Regions from separate parts of the Homo sapiens genome. Here all the other regions are linked to region 4. Evidence: promoter capture Hi-C in human tissues and cell types (Jung and others, 2019). All regions are on one chromosome and are shown on one strand. Each heading gives the region's core, a stretch centred on a gene start or on the middle of the fragment in contact. The rest is flanking DNA. Distances are from core to core; before and after follow the strand shown.

Region 1 (3,853 bases), core at 62-2,561, 220 kb after region 4:
GAAACTGAAGTAAGTTAAAGGGAAATAGGTCAGCTTTTTTCAGCTTTTTCTAGTCATAAACTTTATGTCAGTAGAACAGACTGTACGTTTTAGATTTTAGATTTGAAGAAAACCTTTCAAACTCAAAATAGTTTCTTTCATTTATTATCTAAATACAACTTCTTCTTAAGTTATTGCTGTTATTATAGGATATTAATTAACCTAATAACGTGTGTTTTCTCAAAAAAATAATATTCACAGATCAAGATTTGAAATTCAAACAAATCATCTATTTTGTAGGCATCAGATTAGCTAGAGAGGGTAGTAGTGCTAGTAGAATCAAGTTTATTTGCATTCTTCACAACTTCTACCCTAAAGCAAACAGATCAAGTAGTTGATGAAGAAATGTTACATACTAAACAAATGCTTCTTTAACAAGCACATCCAAATCAACATGTTTAATACCAAACTCATGATCGTTTTCTGAAACCTATTCCTTTTTTCCCACTTTTCTCCATGTAGTATTCCTCAAGTCAGAAATCTGGAAGTCCTTTATGGCAACTGTCCATTTGTTTACCTATTCAAACCTAATAAGAAAATAAGTCCTATTGATTCTCCAGCAAAATTAACTCCCAAATCTCTTCACTAAATCTCAAGCTTCTATTGTCAACACTGTGATAGTCAGGGACACTACTATTTCTCACTTTGAGTAATAATGTTATAACTTTCTCCAATCTCAAATTAACTACTAGATCATTTTTCTTAAAGTTGAAAATGCTTACAATGGACTTTATTTTATGACCTCTCTAGACTTACCTGATGCAATTTCCTTACAACAGGCATCAGATTCATGATCCTTTTTCAGTTGTTCTAAAGCTGTCTTTCCTAATATGAGATATTACACATAATGTCTTTTCTTATAATAATCTTCCCTCTCTCTTCATTTATCCTTCTCCCACATTTTATGACTTAACCATTACTCATTTATTAGCTTAATTTTTATTTCCTCAGAAAACCTTCTTCTTACTTCTCTGATGATAAAATCACTCCTAGTTTCACAATCCTAGAGTACACTGCTTCTTCTTTATATGTCATTTGCATAATTACATGTTTAATATTTGTCACCTCCACCTCCACTATACTCTGCATTCTATGAAGACAGAGATTAGTTCTGTGAACATAGAACTGATTTTGTTACATTTCCTTACAGATAACATAAAACCACAACCCATGAATGAATTTTTGAAGATAATTACATTAAATGTCAATATTAACAAAAGAGCCACAGAGATCATGAGTACTCAAATCCACAAAAAACTCATATCTTCCTTTTGATTTATTTTTAAAAGTATATTTCATGAAAACATTAGTTTTTTAAATAGAATTTATGATGAGATGAGCAATTTCAGACAAATTGTCGACACTGTCTGGTGGTCTGTTTATCTGATTGACCTTATCTTGAATGAGGTAAATTATAAACCATATTATCCAGGTCTATTAATGGTTGTGTTCCTCTTGATTTTTATCTTTTTTTTCTGAATTAATCTGGTTATTTTCTTAATGACTTCAAATATATCTTTGTTTATAAAATTCCCTTTCATTAAGTGGTTATATTCCTTTGTTCATTTCAAATATTATATATTTGTGTGTGTGCTTACCTTTTTATTAATTAAACTATTTGCTTTTTTTTGCTAAGTCAATATTTTTTGAACTTTCTGATTCCACACCTTTTTTTAGTAATACTTTTTTTTTAAATTTCTGCTGTAACATTTATACAACCTTTTTATTCTTTTCTCAAATTATTTTCTTTGTCTCTTTTTAAAATGTATTTACTTGAATGCTTAGTTCATCTATATTTTGTTCATTATTAACTATGAAACTATTTAGAGCTTTGGATTTATCTCTAATTGTATTACTTAATACATAAATAAACTTACTATTTAGAGCTTTGGATTTATCTCTAATTGTATCTTAATACATAATTAACTTTTGGCTTTATTTATCTTATATTTTTAAATTATGGATTTCATTTTATTTCAGATCATACAATTATTTTAACTTGTATTATAAATCTTATAAATTTTAACTTGTATTATAAACTTATAAATCTGTGGTTTATATTTCTTGTGTTTATATCTGTCTTTTTTCAATTGTAGTAGTGTTATGTAGCCCATACAACTTTTCATGTTTTTTATTGTTGTTTTTGATATTGCAAAATTTCTCTTTCTGGCTTATTTCATGATCAATACTCATATGTAATAATACTCATATATTTTGAATTCTAACTTAGCTTTCAAAAATATGATCCTTAAAAGTCAAAGCTCAATCTATTAAATACTGTTAATAAAATATTTAAAGGGTTTTATTAATGTTTCCCATCAGCTTTATCTTTGATTTCAATACTGCTGTTTGATATATTGAATATTGTGAAAGATTTATCTTTAGAGTACCTCATATTTTCATAAATACACCCTTCTATATCAGTCAGTGTTGATCAGGAAAGCAGAGCTACTATAAATTTTGAAGAATAAAGAATGAATTATAGGAGATGAAGTCCAGAAATAGCACTTGGAGAGTCAGAGAAGAGTCAGAAACTAGCACTCCTGCAGTGCTGGCTCAGGTAGATAAACCTGAGCTGCAGGGAAGCTGGGGATGCTGACTTGCCAGAGGGGAACCATAAAGGGAAGTTGATAGAGATGTGTGTGAAAGGCTGCTCCTGCTCTGTCTCCTGGTGGGCCTGTTGGTCAGCAGTGTCAGCAGTTGGAAAGAACTGGCCATGGAACAAGGGAAGCCAGGACAAGCTGCAACCTGCCAGCTCCTCTGAGTTGCCTCTTCTCTCATCTGACTGCAACAGCCTTCAGAGATTAGTAGCTGTTGCGTCATTTCTTTCTTCTACATCTCACAGAAATTTATCTTTAGGCAACCACTGTTTATACTAGAAATTCTGGGAAACATTGCTCCAGCTTACAACTTTATACAGTCTATCACCACTCTTGTCACTCTTAAAAACTCAGTATTTATATTTCATTTTCTTAATCATCTGTTTATTTTGAATAAAGTGAGTTAGAAAGCCCATGTAGCTGTACCTTATACAATTGAAAACATGCTAACCTTCTCTCCAAAAAAGAATACAAAGAGGATATGTGTTACATTACCCGTCTTTTAATAATGTTTATTTTTTTACTAGCTGAGTCACACCATTCTTCTTTGATAGCTTGTAACTTAAATACTGAGATATAACTTAATCACTACTAACACATTTTATGAATAGGAGAATGAGTAAAGTATAATAATTTTGTATGTGTAATGTTTGCTTATACATACATAGACATAAACACACATTCTATACATACCATAAATATACACTATACACATATATACATGCCACAGATATATAATATAAACACTCAATGTATGCAATATGTAAAATATACACACAGCGTATGCTATACTTACATAGATGTATGTGTGTGTGTGTTTATGTTTGTAAGTATATACACATATCTCTATATATATGCTTGGTACATGCTAGTTAGAGTAAAAAGGACTGTTACCTTATGAGTATTTCTTCCTTAAACTGAATACACACATAAACAAATATTAATATATTATTACATTTTATACATTTACAACTACCACTGTCCTTTTTCTCTGTAACTAGTTCATATGGCTCAAGGTAGTATTTGCCTCTTCCTTCTTACCTTATATATTCCATTTCCCTTTGCTCTTGTCTTAGCTCAGACTGCCTCATGAAATACCAAAGACTAGGTGACTTCAACAATATGCTTTTATATATTACAATTCTGGAGGCTAGGAAGTTCAAGATCAAGGTGCCCACAAGTTCAGTTCCCGGTGACAGCCCTCTTACTGGCTT
Region 2 (3,466 bases), core at 43-2,542, 190 kb before region 4:
GCATGTAACGTACACTATCCAGGTGCTGATTACATTAAAAGCCCATACACTAAAACCCCAATATATCCATGTAATAAAACTATGCTTGTATGCCTTAAATGTATACAAAAATAAATAAATATCATGATAGCCAACCTACTTTCGGTTTGATTGCTTGTTCAAGTGTACGTGTCTGTGCAACTGGTAGCATGGAATAATTATTTCCACGTATCTATTAGTGAGTATGATTTTGAGCTACCAAAAATCAAATCAAATTTCAGTTAATAAAAGTATTATTATTTTTTATTCTTCATTATTCCTATTATATAAAATACATGTATCACAACTGTCTTTTTGGTATTCTAAAATACTTCCTAGATCAAGCCATACTCACAAAGACTAAGACACTGTGACAGAGACTACTTATTCTCTGCTAATCATTCTACCCATTCACCACAACAAAAAAGAAAAAGAAAAAACAAAACACCCCTGATTATTATCTGGACACATCACTCCCAAGGATAAATATTATATTTCTTATTCCTTTAGCTCTAGATGTGCCTGTGTGATAGAGGCTTCTTAATGGCAGCCTTGAAAGAATAGAACAGGGTTAAGGACATGAATAGACAGTTCTCCAAAGAAGATATACAAATGGCCAACAAATATGTGAAAAAATTCTCAACATCGCTAATGATCAGGGAAACGCAAATCAAAACTACAATGTGATACCACCTTACTCCTGCAAGAATGGCTATAATCAAAGAATAAAAAAAAAGTAGATGTTGGCATGGATGCAGCGATCATAGAACACTTCTACACTGCTGGTGGGAATGTAAACTAGTACAGCTGCTATGGAAAACAGTGTTGAGAGTCCTTAAAGAAGTAAAAATACAACTACAATTTGATCCAGCAATCCTACTACTGGGTATCTGTTCCATGTGAGAAATGTGCGTGGGGCGAGGAAAAGGTGCACACACAATTCGTTTAAGGGTAAACAACCTTTATCCCATGTAATGGCAAAGCAGATATAATAAGAAAATGATATAATCAGCAGATGATATAATAAGCAGATTAATACAATAAGCAGACTGATATAATAAGCAAATTATAATAGGAAGGGGAGAAGGGAAAAGATATTTACACTCACCAGACTATGGAGGATTCACCACCAGATTGGGAAGCAACAGCCTAGGCTCCAGAATCAGAAGGAACAGCCTGGGCTCCACAGTCGGCCACTCGTCTGTGCAGAGATGAGGAGAGGTCTCATGAAGCTTTGGCACAGTCTGGGACCCTAGCTCTTTTTGTAACAAGTTTTTTGGCATGAGGCCCAGTCACGAGGGCCCTTCCCCACTGAGCTCAAGGAACACAAAAAGGTCAACTTGTTTTTTGTGATTCTCTATTGTTTTTCAATAACTAACGTATAGGAATAGATTGAAGTAGAGATTTCTTGGAAACAGAGCTGGATGAAGCCTCAAGGGGCTCACACAACCTGTTCCAGGACTTGGTAACCATTGTTTGTGTCCATGTTCAATTGAGTTCAAATTTAATGTTTAACTTTTCCTCCACAGTATCTACCCAGAGAAAAAGAAGTCATTATTCAAAAAAGATACTTGCACATGCATCTTTATAGTAGCACAATTCACAATTGCAAAATCGTGGAGTCAACCCAAATGTCCATCAATCAATGAGTGAATAAAGAAATTGTGAGATATATATGATGGAATACTACTCAGCCATAAAAAATAATGAATGAACAGCATTTGCAATAACCTGGATGAGATTGCAGATTATTATTCTAAGTAAAGTAACTCAGGAATCGAAAGCCAAACATTGTATGTTCTCACTGATATGTGGGAGCTAAGCTATGAGCATGTAAAGGCTTAAGAATGATACAGTGGACTTTGGGGACTTGGGGGGAAGAGTTGCGGGGCAAAGGAAAAATACAATAAATGTGGTGTAGTGTATACTGCTCAGGTGATGGGTGCACCAGGATCTCACAAATCACCACTAAAGAACTTACTCATGTAACCAAATACCACTGGTTCCCCAATAACTTATGGAAAAATAAAATAAAATTTAAGAAAAGAAAGAAGAGGACAGTTATCTTGGCATACAAGGACACAAGCCTGCAGTCAACGACAGGAATAAGATGTTGCCATCTCATCTGAGCCTCTTTAATCATATGGTTTCCAAAGATATTCCAATAATTTAGAGGAGATGAGGGACTGGGATGGAGCTGAGCATGGTCCGTAAGGAAAGAACCACAGTCTTCAGACTCAACCTATATCTAGGCAAGATCTGTAGCTTTTATTAGTTATATATAAACCCAAAACTAAGTTGTCAAAGAATCACTTTCACAGAAAATCCTTCTTGGCTTGCAAAAGCCAGTCGTTGTTTAGTCCCTAAAGTTACCAAGAATAACACTCCCAGTCCCCCCAGCCCCACTCTACCACCATATCCACAACAATTGCATCAGCAGGATGCTGGTTAGGAATTTGGCAGTCCCCATAAAGAGCATTCATAACACAGTTAACTTAAGATATGACCATGAAAAATCAATAAGGAAGAACTTCCCAGGGAGTTATGGTTTGCCAGGTAAGCTAGCCAAATAATTTGTACTTTATAATTCATATATGGTAAGATTTGATCATTACTATAGACATGTAAGTACTATATGTTTCTCATTATACTTTTTCCCAAATGAGAATATCATGATTATTTTGTGTATTCATGCATTTGGGGATGGGCAAACTATGCCCCAAGGACAAATCTGACTTGTTGTATTGTGTGTGTGTGTGTGTGTGTTTGTATGTGTGTGTGTAAGTACAGCTTTATTGGAACATAGCCATGCCCATTCATTTTGTCTCTGGCTGCTTTCACCCTTGAGTGGCTATTAAATAGTTATAACAGAGACAATATGGCCTGCAGAGCTTAAACTATTTACCATCTGGCCATTTACAAAAAAAGTTTGGTGATCCCTCGTCTATATTATCATTTTATATTGAGCATGTTAAGACCAAATTAGTTGTTTCTAGACTAATGGTAGCTATATCATACTGAAAGGAAAAGATTGAACATTGACTAGAGTGTCAGAGAAAAATCCATTTTTTCTCCTTCCTATAAAAAGCAAAAAACATATATAGTTATCTACACTGCATGTTGTTGGACCCTTGAAAAATGTAATTTTCTTTAATTACCCTTTTTAGTAATAACATCTATTTATATTAAGGATTCTTGTAATAAATAGTCCTATGAGCTTTTTATTGTACATTATAAAGATATTATCGAGAAAGATATTATTGAGTTTTTAAATTCATTATGTTATATCATACTATACATTCATTTCTCCCAAGAGAAATGATCATGGTGCCTAATGATATTAAAAATCTTCTCAGAAGTTTGTTTTTATCTCATGAATATAATAAATTGTGTAAATGATACTAACTTTGCCCTTTTTTCAAATTAAAATTTAAATGACAAATTTATA
Region 3 (3,517 bases), core at 55-2,554, 220 kb before region 4:
TGTCTGTGTTGTATAGTCTTGAAATCATTTCTCTAAATGTGTCATAATATACTGATGGACCATAAATCTTCTATTCTTACCATATAGAATTTTAAGGACAGTAGCTCCAACAATTTTGTTATTTTGGTTGCTTTGATTGTTTCCTCTTTATTTTTGGTTAATTTTCCATTTTTTGTACCATGTCTTTTGCTTTGAAGATGAAGCCTTCCAATACAAAAGCTGTAGATGTCTGTAGTGGGGAATGTTGCACTAGCTGAAAAGTAAACAGTAAAAGCAAGGAACAAGAGAAATTCCTGAATTTTGAGATAAATAATGAGAACTCTGAGAAATGGAAGCATATCAGTCATGCTAACACCGTATTAAATGAATTTAGGTCTCCTTTTCATAATGTAAATGCAAAGAAATTAGAGAGGAAGAGCAGATCACTTGGATAAAATTGCTGACTGAACAACACTTCTCAACTTCTAGCACTGTAAGAATAGTATAAAAAGTAAAAACAAACAAACCCTCACATAGTCATTCAGTAACCATTCAACATTCTCACTGTACCCATTCAACATTCTATATTAGAAGATAATTATGTCTCAAGGTACACTTATCTTAGCATGACAGCTTAATTGTGTTGGATTGATTTATATATTAAAGAAAATAAATTCTAGTTTTATGGCGATGTTTTGTAGTTTGTTGCCTTGAAAATCTAGAAGGATAAAGGGATTCAAGGAAAAGCAAGCACTTAAAAAGGTACTCATAGGGCACAAAAATGTAGTAGTGACCTAGATAATTGGTTGTCAGTAAAGATGGATGTGCTCAACAATTTTTAGGAGTGATGATAGTGGTGATGATGTTTGTTCAAACTGGTTACTATTCTCTGCTATAATTTTCTTTCATTATAGCAAATATTATATGAAAATTTTGTACTATGTATCACATATTTAATGATCACTTGGAAGATGTCATACACTCCTTATTCTCACTCAAATAAAGGGTACAAGACAGCACAAGAGAATCCAAAGTCATTGATAAATGAACCTGAGGCAAACTTTCAGAATAAGATGTGATAGGCGACAAACAAGAAGTGTAAACACTTACAAAATAAGAATATGTGAATTCTATGAACCATTAGGGAAAACCTGGGCTTTGATCAAGAACATGGGTTGGAAGCTCATGCTATTTGATATACACACTTTAAAAGAAAGGGGGATAGGAAACTGCAAGGGAGTAGGGTATATGGGTAATAACTGTGTCCTCTTGTGAGAGACGCTATACCATGCACCAAAATTGATCTCCTATCCCTGGGCATAAAGCTAGAAATTTAGCAGCCTCATTTGCAGTTAAGTACAGCTGTGTGGAATTCTTTCCCACACAGTGGAACTGAAATGCGACTAGCAGTGATGTAGCCCAATTTTTGGCCTATTGAAACCAAACACATTTCTTCTTCATCTCATTCCCCTTCCACTAGCTTCAGGCAAATAATTGTCTTTTCCTAGTAGAGGCATACCACAAAATGGAAGAAACTTGAATTCCTAGATCACTACATGAAGGAGAGCCATGTCTTTATCTTGACCACCCAACTAAGACTGTGGCAATAAACAAGAATTACGCTATTGTATTATGCTTGTGAAATACTGGGATTTATCTCTTTCTAGAGTCCAGTCTCTCCTAACTAATGTCTGCCATCTTGTTGGGACCTCAAGGAAGGAGAATGTTTTTGAGAATACAAGTATCCAAAATATAGGAGGCCACTTTGATTTTGTGGTTTTGATAAATTTTTTAGAATCTTGTATATTCATGAGTCTCTTCATTAATTCCAAAATAAATAAAGAAAATAAGCTTGGCACCCTCTTGAAGCTGAAGGTAAAGCTTCTACTAAAAAGATGTTGCAATAAGACTAGACAAAATAATAAACATATAAATACACGACATGCGATAAGGCCTATGACAGAAAAAGTAAACCTAAGGGAAGATAAAGGTGTAAACAAGGGAGAGGTGTTATTACAGATGAGTCTGGAGGGCTTGGAAAAAGGGGGCATTCCAGATAGTGACTGAAAAAAGTATGAAGGTCAAATAAATAAGCAAAAGAAAGCAATATACTTTCCAGAAACTGAGAGTAGTTAAATAATTTCAAGAATCATGTATAATGAGGTTATACAGTGACCCATCAGGGTTATTATGTGAGACAGGAATTATATAACATGGTTCAGAATCTGGACTTTATATTGCAGGCTGTGAGAGGCATTGGAGAATTTTTAGCAAAGAAGTGATATCATTGCATTTTCTGCTGAGGAAAGATTACTATGGTAACCATAAGGAAGGTAGATTGGAGGAGGGATAAGACTGATGACAGGGAATGCCAATTAGAAGGTTGATGTATTAATCTACATAAGAAATAATGAGGCCTGAACCATGTCATGGTGTGGGAATTAAAGAGAAGCACAGTTTGGAGAGGTGCTGAGGTATTTCCTCAGTAATTGGATATATAAGATTTGAATACCAGCAGCTTACTTTTTAGATTCTATCTTATTTACTTGCCACCCAATCTTCCCTGAACCATTCCTCGGTAAAAAAACATACCTGAGATGTAATGTCATTTGGTGGTCAAGCGAACTTCTGCTGGTTTCAAACACTAGATGAAAAGAAATAACTGGACTCATTACGCTACTGTGTTAGTGTCCCAAAAGAAACTTGCAATTTTTATATGGGAGCTACCATATTTCCTTCAAAAAAATTAAAATAAGGGGAGTAAAATTGCTCCAATTGCTCTGAGAGTTAAAACATAGAATTATCATAAAACTGGTAAGGCAAAGTCACCTTGAAAAGACAGAAGGGTCTCAAAACATCAAGATTCTACTGAAACCAGACAACTCTGTTCTGTATACCTTTGGTAACAAAAGATGTGTTATTTAGTTTTAAAATCAGATGTATGGGGCTGGTAAATTTGAATCTAAACCTAAGCAGACAACCCATTCTCAACTTAACAGTTTAAGATGTTTTATCTGTGGTTATATCTAGGTTTAGTTTAAGAGGGGTTGTTTTTGTTTGTTGCTTAGTCTTCAGAATTTTTCATCCTAGTCATCCCCAAAACCATAAAATCTAATTAAAATCAGTGATCTTGCCATATATATTTCAGCCTAAAGATAGTACCATAGATTCCAGCTATCCTCTAAGCACTGCTTCCTTGAAGTCCTTTCTTTACAGAAATATAGAGTAGCTACATTTATTCAGCTGACGATGATTACGGCCAGAGCCCTTTATCTTAGGAAGTTCAATAAGATGATGACATTCACGAGACCCCTGAGAACACAGCCAGCTTGTCTTTTCTTGCTGGTTACCCTATGGTTAACTTCTTACATTGTTAAGGTGCTATTATTACTATGACTTCATCATGCTTTCTCCCTGCACTGCATCCTAGACAAACTGCAAAGTAAAGGCAATACTTTAGAAGTAAATTTATCAAGAGCAGAGCTAAATTCCCAAAGGAAAGCATAAATGACCCCTGCCGTGACGCGAATCCCAGGCT
Region 4 (3,608 bases), core at 949-3,448:
TTCCAGTATATATTTGAACTTTGTTTTGTCCCAACCCTTGACTTCTTACAGCTAGGTCAGTGTGTCCCCTCCCTACCTCAGTCTGGACACCATAAAAAAGAAAACAAGTTATTCAGCCCAGCGATGCAAGGTCTTCGGGTTTCTCATTCAACATTTTATACTTTGATCCCTGAGGTAACGGAAAATCCTCATCGCCTAGACTTTCATTGGTTCCTATCAGCTCAGCTGGAAAGGGTGGCAAGTGGGACAATCCTGAAGAAAAAAGAGTCACCCCCACGTCCTAAAGTACTTGGAAGTGCTCGCTGGGATCTGCCTGTACTCCAGGTTGGTGCAACTCCACCGCCCTCCAGTGAAGTCCCAGAAGCGATCAAGTTTAAAGTGAAAGGGGGATGGAAGCATTTTTTCTCCCTATGCCTTCGGAGTCTGTGGCTTCAGTTTGCTGCAGGTTCTCTCCGTGGACTTCTCAGAAACCTCAACTTTCCACTTCGAGGGACAGAAAGCTACAAGGAAAACGCTGATGGTTTTGGTGGAGATTCTCCTGGACTTCAGTGGTGTCCTCTGGTACATCTGTCCGCGGTGTCCCTTTGGTTTATTTCTGTGGTCTTCCTGCGCAGTCCCTCAGCGGCTCGGAGTTTGGCCTTCCAGCTCTCCAACTCAGATCCTGAGCCTCCTAAGCTCCCGCGGAGACCCTGAAGTCCCGGATCTGGCGCCGCTCGCCGACCTGGAGGGAGGCTGCACCGCTGAAGTGCAGTCTCGGAGCTGCGCTCCTCTGGAACAAAGCAGCCAGACGTGGCTTGAGTGGATTCCTAAGCCAAGGATTGGATCCGGAGTACCAGGGGCAGAGAGGGGGAGCAGAGGAAAGAAAGGAGATGTGAGGAGTTTCCACCTAAAGCACTTCACTCCTCGTGTTCTTCCCCGACAGAGATAGCTGTGTGGTTCTTCCTTACGCGTGGGTGCAGGTGTGCGCGCTTGGGGTGAGCCCATGGTTGTGCTCGAGTATACGGGCGCCTGTGCACCTCCAGGGCAATGGTAAAGCCTGGCAGAGCTCTTTTTGGAACAAAATGAAGGAGCTCCATATCCACGGAGGCCACCCGTATGGGCCTTTGCCAAGTAGGGCAGAAGAAGCCCTTGTTAGCCAGCTTCCCTTTGCAACTTCCTACTCTTCCTTTGGGTACAGACTGGTGTCTGGGCTAGCTAGGATCACAGCTGAGAGCGAAGGTGCTCTCAGTGTCCGAAGACCACGTGCTGGTGAACCCACAATGAGAAGCGAAAGGGTTTCAGGACTCTAGCAGAAAGGAAGAGCAAGATTTCACTCAGGGTTTCTTAGAAGAAAGAGTTAACTTTGCTCACTGGCTTTTCCAGGATGGAGGGAGTGGGGATAGGGTCGGGGAGAGAAGCATTGGGAGTCTTGTCGGAGTCTCAAGCAAAACCAGGCGAGGGCTCCGGGCAGATCCATTCCCGCAGGGCCCTGTCTAACCTCCTTTCCAGTCGCACCTCTTTCCTGCTTTAGACCCTGCGTCTGTGCCGGTGACCTTAGAGACTAGGTCTGGCTTATGAAGACTGTTGGGCTCCCTTTCTGCCCTTCACATAGTAAAATGTGACCAACTGCAGTATTCGTAATGTCTGATGCTGAGCTGAGTTGATTCCCAAATATAAATGTTCTTTTCAGAATCCGCTCCCATCTGATTAGTAAGCAAATCACCACCCACAACTAAGGGGACAGCGGAAGCCAGCCTCAGATGACTGAAACCCCCAAGTCAGTAGCTCTCCTCAAAATTTCCGGCGGGTTATTATAGATAATGACTTTTCCCACCGCCCTAAGCAGCCGAAGCTTGACTCAGTGATGATTCTCTCTATCCCGTAACTGCGAGGAAGTGGGCGATCAGCAAATTGCCCTTTTGCAGGAGGCTGGGGACGCCCCTGGAAGTTCGCTTTCATTCTCCAGGTTTTCTGCCTTTTCCCTTCCCCCTTCCTGCAACGCCCCCGCGCCTCCTCAGCCTGGGGATTTCCTGGCGCTTCGCCGGCCCTCTCCGCAACCCCCTGATAAATCGGTTCAGAACCAGTCTGGCTGGGAGGCCCGAGGGCTGACAGCAGCGGAGCGGCCCCGGCCGGGGTCTCACGGACTCTCGGGGTCTGGCCGACACGGCCGCTCCCGTCACTGCAGCGCGGGCTGAGCTCACGGCCGCGCGCCCGCCGCCGCCGCCGCCGCCGCCTTCATGCTGCAGCGCAGGGCTCAGTTCCACGCGGCCAGGAGGCCGCCGTTGCCCACACGCGACGCTTTGGGAAGCCCAGCTCCCGGGTCCGCCCCGGCCGCGGCCGCAGCCCCGGACCTCGGCTGCTTGCCTCGCGCCTGAACTGCGGACTCGCCCCAGCGCGGTGGCCAGCGGGCGGGGCGCTGTGTTCCGCGGCGCGCAGGGAGGCGGTGAGCGTGTGCAGAGCTGCCCGAACGGAGGACTATGTATGTGTGTGCGCGTGTTTGCGTGTGTTTGAGCGTGTTTTTCCTTCTTCCCTTGAGGATGTGAATTGTTTAGCAGCTGGCTGCTCCCTTAGGATCCTTGACTTTGGGGAGCTCTGGCTGTGAACACAGCCCACCCATATAATCCATTTTGCACGGTCCGTTATATCAGAAAAAAAAAGCGCAACTGGACGGGGGTGGGGCAGACCAACGAAACCTAGACAGACACACACACACTCAGAGGAGAGAGGAAGAATTGAAAGACTTGAGAAGACTTTGATAACCTCCCTGCTGGCCCTTCTGTGTTCCGGAAAGATCCTGGATGTTGGCTACCTTTTCAAGTCATCTTGGCATGTCTCTAGTGTTTTGTAAGCCGCTTTCCAGCTAGCTGCGTGTGTGTGTGCGCGCGCGTGTGTACGCGCGCGCCTATCTGATGCATTTGACTGTCTTTTATCCAACTGCCCAGAAGCAAATGTGTTAACTCGGCGATGCCCCTTCATGCCCGGGTTCTTGCAGAGCTCTGAGGACGCCCAGACCCATTTTCCTGGCTGGATTTGGAGCGGCTGCTGGGCTGTGGACCCAGGTGTGTGGATCGCTTTACCCAGAAGCTTGGAAAGCGCCAATATTAACCTGCTTCCAGGTACATCACAAGGTCAAGAGAGTGTCTTGCAGCCCTCTTGTTTCCGTGTATCTACACCTTCTTCTCTTGGCCAGAAGGATATTTACGTTTTGGTTCACAGCATTTGAAGCCAAAAGTTCAGCCCTTCGAACTGGTTTGCTATACAAAACAAAACAAAACAAATAAGGTAATGAGGATTGCTTATTAAACTGCTTAACAAAATCCCCGACTCTTCCTCAGCCCTTTCTCGGCTCCCTCCTCCCCACCAAAATGTCACCAGCTCTTGAATTACGTGGATTCGGGTTGGAGGAGAACTTGAAGGAAACGTGATTAAAGGGCTATGCGAGAACGCTCTCTTTGCTGCCCGCGGTCCGGTGGGCTTCGAAGCCAATCGTGAGAAGGACCGGTTCCCTCCGTGCTGCTTCCTCCCCGTGCAGTGCTGGGTGTGCGTGTGCGAGTGTGAGTGCAAGTGCGCGCGCGCCCGGGTGCGAGTGTGTGTGAGTGTGAGCGTGTGTCTGTGTGTGCGTGCGCGGC
Region 5 (3,880 bases), core at 467-2,966, 210 kb after region 4:
TAAAGTAATGATATGTACTACAAAGTGCATGAATCTTCATCACACTAATGAAAGGAGCCAGTCAGAGAGACTCCATATTATAAGATTCCATTGGTATGAAATGTCCAGAATAGAAAAATCTACAGAGAAAGAAGAACTAGTGCTTACTTAGGACTTGGGTCAGGTGGGAAGGCTTGGGAGAAGTAGGGAGTGAGTGCTGATGGACTGGGGGTTTCATTTTTGGCGTGATGAAAATGTTCAACAATCGATTGTGGTGGTTATTGTACAACTACATTAACACACTAGAACCCTTTGAATTATATACTTTAAAAGGGTACATTGTATGGTTATTGATTTATATTTCAATAAATCTATTTAAAATAATTACAGAAATAAATATGGAGTATAAGATAATTCAAAGTAATTCTTTATAGCATAACATCTTTTAAAAAGTCAGCACAAAGCGTGAAAAGTTATTCTGGTGAATATGGAATATCTACTATCTAGGACATTACACAGAAGGTAACCTTATTATAAACTAATTAAATACTCTGAACCAATTTTTCATTTAACAGAAATTAAACTGAGTTATTACCTTACACAAATCCATATGTACTTGTATATATTCCAAAATGATATCAGAGAAATAATACATAGATTGTTTTAAAACAAAATGATCAAAACAGGTCTTCATTTTTTACAGAATTTGGATTTATTATATATTAAAATGATTTTTAACTAGGAATTTCTATGAGTTTTTTTTAAAGACTAGCATCTTAATAATATTATAATTTTAGCTCCCTTATTTCCTGGGAATTGTGATAAACTAATCAGAACAGAGCTCCTTTGTTTTAAGACATTCATTTTTAATTTCTTAGTACCTTCTGGGGGTACTGATTCCTTAGTACCTTCTTAGTATACTTGGGCAACGATGGACAAAGATTATTCTCAATTATATATACAAAGGCACACAGAAAACTTGCAGTTTTATTTTTGTAACTTCAGCCACATGTCAGAAGTAGAAATAAATATATATATATAAATTATTGAGTCAACATTCAAAAAGATCTGTTTGAAAGAGATTGTAATTAAAATTTTGTATTTTTCTTTGCTTGAACAAAATGATTTTAATACAATAAAATTTGTTAAATAAAATTGATGATGAAAAATAAAATTGATGATGAAACAATGTTTTAAATGATTGCCTTCTGAGCAATATTTTATTTAGTATAGACCAAAATTATTTCAGGAGAGAACAAGGCAGTGTAAGTAATGATGGAAAGTTTCATGAAGAAACTTAGATTGTGCTAGATCCAGGAATGGGGTGGTGATTTGAAGAAGTCATCACGTTCCAGACTAGAGAAAAGACACACACAGGTAGCTTTCAACTGAGGAAAATAAGTAAAAGATGCTAACTGCATAGAAAATATAGGTTGAAAGTGATGAGAAATAGATAGGAAAGTTGTTTCCCACCCTTTGAAGTGGCTGTATTCCTAATACTGATTATGCAGAGATAATTTGAAGATGACTGTGAATACTAAACTACATTTGTTAATAGTCCACTCAAATCTGTTTTCAACTAACTACAGAGAACAATTACATTAACAATTTCATCCCTTTGATTTTTCTTTTTATTACAGTTTAAGTTCTGGGATGCATGTGCAGAGGGTACAGGCTTGTCACATAGGTATACATGTGCCATGATGATATGCTACACCCATCAACCCACCATCTACATTAGGTATTTCTCCTAATGGTATCCTTCCCCTTTCCCCCAACCCCCTGTGGCCCTGGTGTGTGATGTTCCCCTCCCTGTGCCCATATGTTCTCATTGTTCAACTCCCACTTATGAGTGAGAACAAATGGTGTTTAGTTTTCTGTTCCTGTGTTAGTTTGCTGAGAACAATGGTTTCCAGCTTCATCCATGTCCCTACAAAGGACATGAACTCACTCTTTTTTATGGCTGCATAGTATTCCATGGTGTATATGTGCCACATTTTCTTATCCATCTATCATTGATGGACATTTAAGTTGGTTCCAAGTCCTTGCTATTGTGAATAGTGCCACAATAAACATATGTGTGCGTGTGTCTTTACAGTAGAATGATTTATAAAACCTTGGCTATATACCCAGTAATGGGATGGCTGGGTCAAATGATATTTCTAGTTCTAGATCCTTGAGGAATCGCTACACTGTCTTCCACAATGGTTGAACTAATTTACATCCCCACCAACAGTGTAAAAGCATTCCTATTTCTCCACAACCTCTCCAGCGTCTGTTGCTTCCTGACTTTTTAATCTAATTGTGGTTTTGATTTGCATTTCTCTAATGACCAGTGATGATGAGCTTTTTTTCATATATTTGCTGGCCACATAAATGTCTTCTTCTGAAAAGTGTCTGTTCATATCCTTTGCCCGCTTTTTGATGGGGCTGTTTGTTTTTTTCTTGTAAATGTGTTTAAGTTCCTTGAGATTCTGCATATTAGCCCTTTGTCAGATGGACAGATTGCAAAATTTTTCTTCCATTCTGTAGATTGCCTGTTCACTCTGATGATAGTTTCTTTTGCTGTGCAGAAGCTCTTCAGTTCTTTAGATCCCATTTGTCAATTTTGGCTTTTGTTGCAATTGCTTTTGGTATTTTAGTCATGAATTCTTTGCTTATGCCTATGTCCTGAATGGTATTGGATTTAGAAAGCCAATGTTTAGAGCAACTTTTCTAATCCTTTCTTATTATGACCTTATTATTCTGGTCTTAAAGGGGCTACACTTCACTATAAAAGGTCTTTTTTACTGGCAATCAATAAATACTAATTGAACAATAGGTTTAATTAAGGTTTAATTAGGAAGGCAGGTGCTTTGATTCCTGTGTACCCTATTTACAAAGATTTACTGGTAGTACCCAGTTTTCTCCTTAATTTCTTGACATAGAGAGTTTGAATTTATTTCTTAAATCATATTCTGTAGAAAGAAGCATCAATTTATTTTATTAATAAACTGTTGGCCTTATTTCTTGAGTATTAGTTCTGGCCTGGCCTTGTTAGGTTAAGAGAATCTTTGTCTTCTTGGGCCTGTCTTGACAATTCGTGCTTCTAATTACTGCTCCCCCCACTTTGTATTTTGTCACAACTAACCTACAGAAATGCCATATTCAGTCAACATCAAAACATGTCTTTTTCATTGTTGGGTATATGTTAGACAAATGGACAAATTGGACGGCATCTTTAGTGTTGGGTGGTGGGTGGTGAATCTAATAGTTGGGACACTTACTGTGAAACACTTCTGAGACGGAATAACATTTAAGCTTTGGTATGAAGAAAGAGAAAGAGTATTGCTGGTTAAGAGAGGGCAGAAGAGCATTTTAGATTAGAAGAACAGCATGGAAAAACATCCATCGAAAAAAGCATGGATGGCACTTGAAGAACTAAAAAAAAGTCTATTCCAATAATAACAAAGTAGTCTACAGATGTCCATTATATCCAGTTGATTAATAGTGTTGTTGAGTTCAACTAGGTCCTTACTGATTTTCTGCCTTCTGGATCTGTTTATTTCTGATAAACAGGTGTTGAAGTCTCCAACTATAATAATGAATTAATATATTTCTTCTTGCCATCCTATCAGTTTTTGTTTCTGCAAAACAGATGCTCTGTTTTCAGGTACATGCATGTTAATAATTGTTATATTTTTCATGGAGAATTTGCCCTTTATTATTGTGTAATGCCCCTCTTTATATGTAATTAATATCCTTGGTCTGAAGTTTACTCTTTGAAATCAATATAGCTACTCTTGCTTTCTTTGGATTAGTACTAACATGATGTATGGATCTCCACTTATTTACTTTTAATCTTCACCTGGTTTTGTATTTAAAGTGGGTTTCTTGTCTAGATGCGGTGGCTCACTGGAAT
Region 6 (3,482 bases), core at 92-2,591, 250 kb before region 4:
CACTATGAGATTTTTTTTTTTGTGATTTTTTTTAGGGCATCAGCAATTGTTAATGTTAGTGTATTTTATGTGTAGCCCAAGACAATTTTTCTTCCAATGTGGCCCAGGAAAAACAAAATATTGGACACCCCTGAACTAACTGTATTTTTGTACCCATTCATCAACCTCTCTTAATCCTTCCCTGCTCCCCCTACCCTCCCCAGACTCTGGTAATCACCATTATACTTTCAGCCATTGTGAAGCTGAACTAACTTTCATTCTTTAGGATGTCTCTGCCCTTCCCCTAAAGCTGTAAAAAGCTTTCATTCAATGATCAGAGAGACTTGGGCAATATTAACAATTTTGGAAAGACAGAACATGTTCTAAAATCTCCAATTTTTTTCAGCTACAATAACATGATATCAATTACTACAATCTATTAATTCATAAATAAAACTTTTCAACTATATTAGTATAGCTCTTACAAAAACCTACTTAAAATCCTTACTTGAAATGGGCAAATCAATTATGTGAAAATATCACCAGTATGAAAACACAAAACACATGATTTAAAGGTCAGATTAGTGAGTAATCTGTCACTCTACTATGTAAAAAATAAATCCAAATATATCTGTAAACAAATCCAATACAAATTATGTTTAAATCATAAAATTGGTTTACGCACAGTATTATACTTTATCCTTGACATATGTAATCATGAGTTTATTGATTTATGAGAAAAATTAAAATCGCATGAATTTTTCAGTCATTTAGTCAACAATTAGATATTGATGTCTAAGTAATTGAAACTCTTGGTTAGAGGCACATTGTATACAAAGCTAAACATACAAAATCTGCTCTATATTTAATTTATGTCAGTTGTAAATTTTGTTACAATAAACATGCTAATAGTATATTTCTGTAAAATGTTTTATAGACAGAAAACTATTTCAAACACTTCATTTGCTTATGCTGTGAGATATACATGAAATACATATACCTTTTAAAAACTCAACCTTTATAATCTTATATCCAAGACAATAATAACATCAACACTGAAACTTTCAGTTTCAGTCAATTTGCTCAAAAGTAGATCAGTTTTGCCCTTTGAAGTACTTGAAAGTTTATTTATATTAACTTAAGAGACACAATGCACTTAGTACAGTTTTGTTACATGGATATATTGCATAGTGGTGATGTCTGGGCTCTTAGTGTAACCATCACCCAAATAATGTACATTGTACCTATTAAGTAATTTCTCAACCCCACTTTCCTCACACTTCCCCACCCTTCCGAGTTTCCAATGACTATTATTTCACACTCTATGTATACACATTACTTAGCTCCCAACTTTTAAGTGAGAATATGGATATTTAACTTTCTGAGTTATTTCAGTTAGGATAGTGGCCTCCAGTTCTGCACATCTTTCTGCAAAAGATATGCTTTTATTCATTTTTTGTGGATGAATAGTATTCCACTGTATATATAAAACAGGTTGTATTTTAAAATTTTCAATATTGCGGTTCGTATTTTCATTGCCTGTCTTATCTTTCCCTCATCCTTCTTGTAACAGGATGTTCCCCCTTCAACAGGACACATAATGTACCAAAATATAATATTTCCCTGGCAGTGTAATTTTATTCATTCATTTATACATTCAACATACCATACTTTATTTTTTAATGCTTTTTTAATGCTGTGAGGAGACCTTTTCTGCCTTAATTACATATTCCAACAAATTCAGCCTTTAAGGTTCCATCTGCATGGCTTTCCAAAAGCTATGTATGTTGGAGCTAATTGAAAGTACAAATAATAGTGAAAAACCTCTAAGAAATATAAGAATATTTCATTCATCAGTGGAAGCAGCACTGAATTAATATGTTATTTAGAAAGAGACTGTGGCAGCCATGAGGCTGTACCTTGCAGACCTCCAACTACAGGGAGCATAACTGGCCTAGGCCATGAGAGGCTGCTCTGAGATTACGGCTGTGTTTGTGCAGAGACCACGCTTCTATGTGCTGCTCCCAGCCAATTACTAAGCTCCATAGGATACTGAGCAGGCCATTTCCTGGGAGACATATGGCTCCTTAGGCTAAAGAATGCTTAAGGCCTTGTCAGACATGCCTCAGTCTAGGACTTTTCCATCAAAACTCTCTTCTTCCCTTATCCCTTTATGTTGTGTTAGATTTGCGTAGCGATCTGATGGCTATCCCAGTCTTCCCAATTTATTTCTCCTTTTCTCTTGGTTTTTGCTTCTCTGAGGACCTGGACTAACATAAAGCTAAATAAAGACCTGTGTCAACAGTAACAGGGAAACAGCCAACAAAGAAAGAATTAAGAACTCTATTGAGGGAGGAGGCAATTTGAGGAGGGTAAATTGCAGTCTAAATTATTTTCGTTATGACATTTCTTTGTTTCTTAAACCCATGTTGTAGTCTTCCTCCAGGGTGGTATTGCGTGATAAACTAAGCTTTAGATGAATATTTCAATTTAAGTGCCTAAGCAAAAAATTTAAACCGATTACCACTGTTTGGAGGGAGGTCCACCATAGACCCTGAGTGTTTTTGCACATTTTGCTTACTGTGCTCACCCTCAAGACATTCTTCTCTTAATTATAAGTAGTTCGGTAATTAGCCACATAGGCAACTATGTAGCTCAAGCCCACAAGGGAATGATGACCATGTAAAGTCTTGCTCCCTGGAGGGAGGAAGACTGGCTTGTTTGCTGCTTGCTACCAAGTTTGCTGCTAACTCAGAAAGTACTGGGCCCTTGGCCCTGGGATCGTCTCCTGTAAGACAAACCCCTTCCTATGCAGGCATAATCTGTCCCTCCATATTGCCCAGTGCAATTAGGGGTCAGAGAATAAGCATAAACTTTCTGACACACTGGTTACTGCTTTTTCTGTGGCTATTAATGCCTTTTGTCTCTGCTTCAGTAATCTCATGTCTTCTTCCACTGTCTAAATTGTTAGTTTGCAAGTAGAGTAAAATTGCATACTCTTCTCAGTTGGCGACACTCACTATTTCTTTTTTCTCAAAACTGCTTCTCTTCTATGTTCTGTTTTTAGTGAATGAAGCTATTAGTCATGCTACAAATAAGAAAATTTCTCAGATATCTAAGAATACCAATGGTGGTCCAGTATGACATATAAAAAAATAAATTTTCTTAAACATTCTTTTTCTGTAAGCAGAAAACAGTTTTAATTAACCCAATGTAACTGGCCACTATTAACAAATGACTTATCCTATAGTATTTAATGAGGCATCATTTATGTTTAAGTTACGTCGAAAAGAATAGTAATCATTCATTTAAAAAATATAGTGATATAGTATAACATCAGTTAATGAGTTGCTTTTTCACTCCAATGGTTTCATTTTAATCCTGCAATTTACTTCAGTTAAGCATTTGGGCCAAAATATCATTTAAAGGGTGGATAAACTCATTAAACTGTTCAGCTATTGAGCATGTTCTTATTTGAGCATAGGATCCTGGTTATGTGTGCT
Region 7 (3,706 bases), core at 1,057-3,556, 180 kb after region 4:
TTACATAAAAGAGGGATATAAATTTAAAAAATTATGTTTAAAAAAAAAAGATGTTCCATCTCCTCTCTCCAGGGAGAACAAAGAATAACCACTGAAGACAACTATAAACAATTATTTACCTGGAGATAGCACCAAAGGAATCTACATTAACATGCTTTACTAACTAGCCTTTATCTACGATTTATTTACTTTTCCACAATTTTCTGCCTATAGAGATTCAAAGTCCTTTTTCTTTGATTTATCACTTTTCCAATAATTAACTTTTCTTTGAGATGTCACGTAAGCTGCAATTCAAGTACAACTTTTTCAGAATTACTAATTCCTTAGGTACTTCCCATGTGCGTGTTAATATACACGTTAATATACTTCTGTTTGTTTTTCTTGTGTGAAAGTGGAATTACAGAAGTCTGTTCCAACTAAGAACTTGAAAGGGTTGAGGAAAAATTATTTTTCTTCTATACTGTTTTCCAACTTTCTAATTTTTCTTTAAAAATACCTAATTTCCTACTAAACTCATTTATTGAGTTTACAATTTTAGTTCTGACAATTGATGTTTGAAGTTTCTAAATAAGTTTTACTTTTCTTCCAGCATTCTAAATTGTGCCATTTAATTTATAGCTCATATTAATTAAATTTATTTTAAAGACCATGTCTGATAAGTGGTAAGTCAAATATTTTCTTGTCTTTTACATTTTTTGCTATTATATCCATTACTTGTATCTATGCAGTCAATTGTTGCCTTTTTATTTGACTGATTTATTTTTAAATTTTGTTCCAACTATTGGATATAAAAAATTATGGAAATAATTCCAGTATATGGATAATATTTTAGTAGATTAGATCACATGGAGGATTTACCTTTGCTTAGAAATGGCAAGTAAGCTGGAGGCATCTTCCTCCTCTCTGATATCGCTTGATATTCACTTGAATCCAACTAGAATTTGAATGAATACAGACCTAAATGTCAGTCATTTTGAGGACTAGCTTATTTGTAATGCACACATGCCCTTTGGAGTAGCCTATTTTTATTGCAATCAAGATTCTGGTATTTCTACAAAGGCTACTCTACCTGGAAAGTCCCAAACTCCATTTACTGTTCTCCCAGACCCAAGGGACTCTCAAAAAGTACACTCTGCATCTTAGCCTCTCACTCACTTCTATTTCACTATAGAGTCTTCATTTGTATCTAGGATTATGTGTGCTGTTCTTTTCTAATTTTAATTTTCCCATCATTTTTTCTGTATCTGCTAAGATAAACATAGTGATTTTATAATGTTTAACTAGCTTTGCATTCCTGGGATAAATGTTTATTGGGTAGGATTTTTTAAATGTATTTTTTGACTGGTTTCGTAATATTTTCATAAACAATTTGCATCCGAGTTTATGAGTGATTTTCCTGTAATTATCGTTTTTTCTACTTTCAAGGTTATGCTGCCTCATAAAATGCATTGGGGACTTTCCCCTTTTCTGAGTCTTTAGGAGTGTTAGTGTATAACTTAAATCATTTATTCCTTGAAAGCTTTCTCAAGTTTTACAGTGAATACATCTGAGCCTGGAATTTTCGTTGTGGAAGATGTGGTATTATAAATTCTACTTCTTTGATGATTAAAGGACTATTCAGGTTTTCCATTACCATTTAAACTAGTTTCGAGAGACACTTTTTCTAGGAATTTGTACTTTAAAGCTAAATTTTAAAATGTATTGTTATTTACTTATGCATAAACAACTTTATTATTATTTTATGTCTGCATTTTCTGTGGTAGTGTTCTCTTTTTCATTCTGGATGGAATTCCTATTTGAGTCTTATTTTTTTTCTTAATATTACCAGTGACGTATAAACTATTTGTTCATTTTGTCCTTTAAAGGTACTACTAATGACATTGTTGATATTTTCTCTGGTATGTTTGTTTTCTATTCAATTTCAGTTCTTATCGCTACTATTTCCTTCCCGTTACTCCCATAATTTATTTTAATATGTTTTTTTCCTAACTATGGTGGATTTTCTTTTTCTGCTAATTAATATTTGCTCTTCTTCTTTAATATACATGTAAGGCTAATTTTGTTTTTTTTTTTTAAGGGCTGATTTAGTTGCAATACATATTATCGATATGTAGTATTTAATAACCATTGAGTTTAAAGCATATTCTGATTTATAAAAAAGAACTTTATTTATCAGTCGATCATTTAGGAATGTTTCTTATCTTTTAACAGTTATGACTAATTTAAAACTTAATTCATTTTGGTAGGGAACCATGGTCTTTATTCCAGATTGAAATATGTTAAGACAATGCCTTATGAACTAGTTTACAGTCCAATTTTTAAATAAGCTTTTAGCATATGATATGACTATTTATCTTATAATTGTTGGGCATTATGCACTATACATTCAGCTGTTAATTATGTGACTAAATCCTTTATATACTTAATGTCTTTTTTCTTTTTAGTCTATCAGTAACAGAGAAATGTGTATTAAAATATCCACATATTATTTTCAATTTACCTATTTGTCCTCATGGTATGACAGAGTTTTACTCTATATATTTTGTTGCTATGCTATTTGGTGATTAAAGATGGTATTGACTTTAAGAGTTAAAAATGTTAACATTATTAACCCAGATCATCTGTATATTTTTTTCCTTAATACCAATTTGATTACCTAGTGTTTTTTTTAAAAAAAGTATTTTGGAAAACATTCCAACTTTATTGAAATTGTCGTTTTGACACTCATTATACTATGGATTATAAAATAAATACATCAACAATAACCTGGAGGCAAGGTGATAAAAGATCTGCTATGTATCATTTTCTCTACAAATGCAGATGATCAGTCAGTATCAGTAGAAGATTTCTGTTATAGTTATCTACCTGTCTCCTCAGCATAATGAATGTACTTGCTTCTAAGGAGTGACCAATTATGTCTGAAAATAAAGTAAGATTAATAGGCAGTAATAGGTAACAATGACTCAACTTTTTCCATATGATGTATTTTGTCAAAGTGGACTGCCATTTATTTCCCTTAACTTTGTCTAAAATATTTACTCATTTCTGATATGGGAAGTAAAAATTTCAAGACTGAATAGTACTTAGGTTGATAGTTTTTGTCACAATCATGTCATTTTAAAAAATGTTTCCTGTTAACAGTATCACTGATTAACTGTGTTCAGCTTTTTTACTGATAAAAGTGTCTTTGATGATACTATGTTTCCATTAAGAGGATTATTTAATCTCAACTTTCAGGTAATACTGCTGCAAGAGATGAGATAATATCTATGATCTATGTTTTATTCAAAGATGAGGCTATTCTGAAAATTTATGCTAGATAAGACTTTTGAATGTCACTATGAACTAAGAAGTAATTACTGTGGAGTCTTTGAATATGAAGCATCATATAAGCAATACAGTTCCTTTCCTTTGGCTATCCATTATGGTTGAATAACAATTTATTATGCTTTTGCAGCAAACATGATTATCAGGGGAATCCGCCCCCAATATTTCAACGATGTTCTTTCTATTTTCCATAAGTGTTGGCCTTCTAAGAAATAAAGAGAAAGAATACAAAGGGAGGAATTTTACAGCTGGGCTGCCGGGGGTGACATCACATATCGGTAGGACCATGATGTCTGCCTGAGTCTCAGACCAGCAAGTTTTTATTAAGGGTTTCAAAAGGGGATGGGGTGTAAAGCAGGGAGTAGGTACAAAGATCACA

Evidence for each region. Contacts are between HindIII fragments. The study calls those that stand out against the background at their distance.
Region 1: a fragment that was not itself captured here is called in contact with the fragment with the promoter of LRFN5 in region 4 in 2 of the 25 tissues and cell types used here (dorsolateral prefrontal cortex and mesendoderm cells).
Region 2: a fragment that was not itself captured here is called in contact with the fragment with the promoter of LRFN5 in region 4 in 6 of the 25 tissues and cell types used here (H1 embryonic stem cells, adrenal gland, bladder and 3 more).
Region 3: a contact is called between a fragment that was not itself captured here and the fragment with the promoter of LRFN5 in region 4, in 2 of the 25 tissues and cell types used here (dorsolateral prefrontal cortex and mesendoderm cells).
Region 5: a contact is called between a fragment that was not itself captured here and the fragment with the promoter of LRFN5 in region 4, in 1 of the 25 tissues and cell types used here (dorsolateral prefrontal cortex).
Region 6: a fragment that was not itself captured here is called in contact with the fragment with the promoter of LRFN5 in region 4 in 6 of the 25 tissues and cell types used here (H1 embryonic stem cells, mesenchymal stem cells, neural progenitor cells and 3 more).
Region 7: a contact is called between a fragment that was not itself captured here and the fragment with the promoter of LRFN5 in region 4, in 1 of the 25 tissues and cell types used here (dorsolateral prefrontal cortex).

Annotation. Positions count from the first base shown.
Region 1 is chr14:41,828,073-41,831,925 of GRCh38, forward strand. The region is part of intron 2 of LRFN5 (leucine rich repeat and fibronectin type III domain containing 5); the gene reads left to right. Among named protein-coding and RNA genes, the nearest start is that of LRFN5, 220 kb to the left of the region's middle. The HindIII fragment of the contact is 6,945 bases long and covers 1-3,853 here.
Region 2 is chr14:41,414,870-41,418,335 of GRCh38, forward strand. No RefSeq gene overlaps it. Among named protein-coding and RNA genes, the nearest start is that of LRFN5-DT, 180 kb to the right of the region's middle. The HindIII fragment of the contact is 6,754 bases long and covers 1-3,466 here.
Region 3 is chr14:41,389,113-41,392,629 of GRCh38, forward strand. No RefSeq gene overlaps it. Among named protein-coding and RNA genes, the nearest start is that of LRFN5-DT, 200 kb to the right of the region's middle. The HindIII fragment of the contact is 4,179 bases long and covers 1-3,394 here.
Region 4 is chr14:41,604,678-41,608,285 of GRCh38, forward strand. LRFN5 (leucine rich repeat and fibronectin type III domain containing 5) reads left to right here and starts at 2,199. Exons shown (of 6, transcript NM_152447.5): 1 at 2,199-3,608. The HindIII fragment of the contact is 3,229 bases long and covers 352-3,580 here.
Region 5 is chr14:41,811,598-41,815,477 of GRCh38, forward strand. The region is part of intron 2 of LRFN5 (leucine rich repeat and fibronectin type III domain containing 5); the gene reads left to right. Among named protein-coding and RNA genes, the nearest start is that of LRFN5, 210 kb to the left of the region's middle. The HindIII fragment of the contact is 5,230 bases long and covers 1-3,880 here.
Region 6 is chr14:41,352,513-41,355,994 of GRCh38, forward strand. No RefSeq gene overlaps it. Among named protein-coding and RNA genes, the nearest start is that of LRFN5-DT, 240 kb to the right of the region's middle. The HindIII fragment of the contact is 3,862 bases long and covers 1-3,272 here.
Region 7 is chr14:41,788,516-41,792,221 of GRCh38, forward strand. The region is part of intron 2 of LRFN5 (leucine rich repeat and fibronectin type III domain containing 5); the gene reads left to right. Among named protein-coding and RNA genes, the nearest start is that of LRFN5, 180 kb to the left of the region's middle. The HindIII fragment of the contact is 5,559 bases long and covers 1-3,706 here.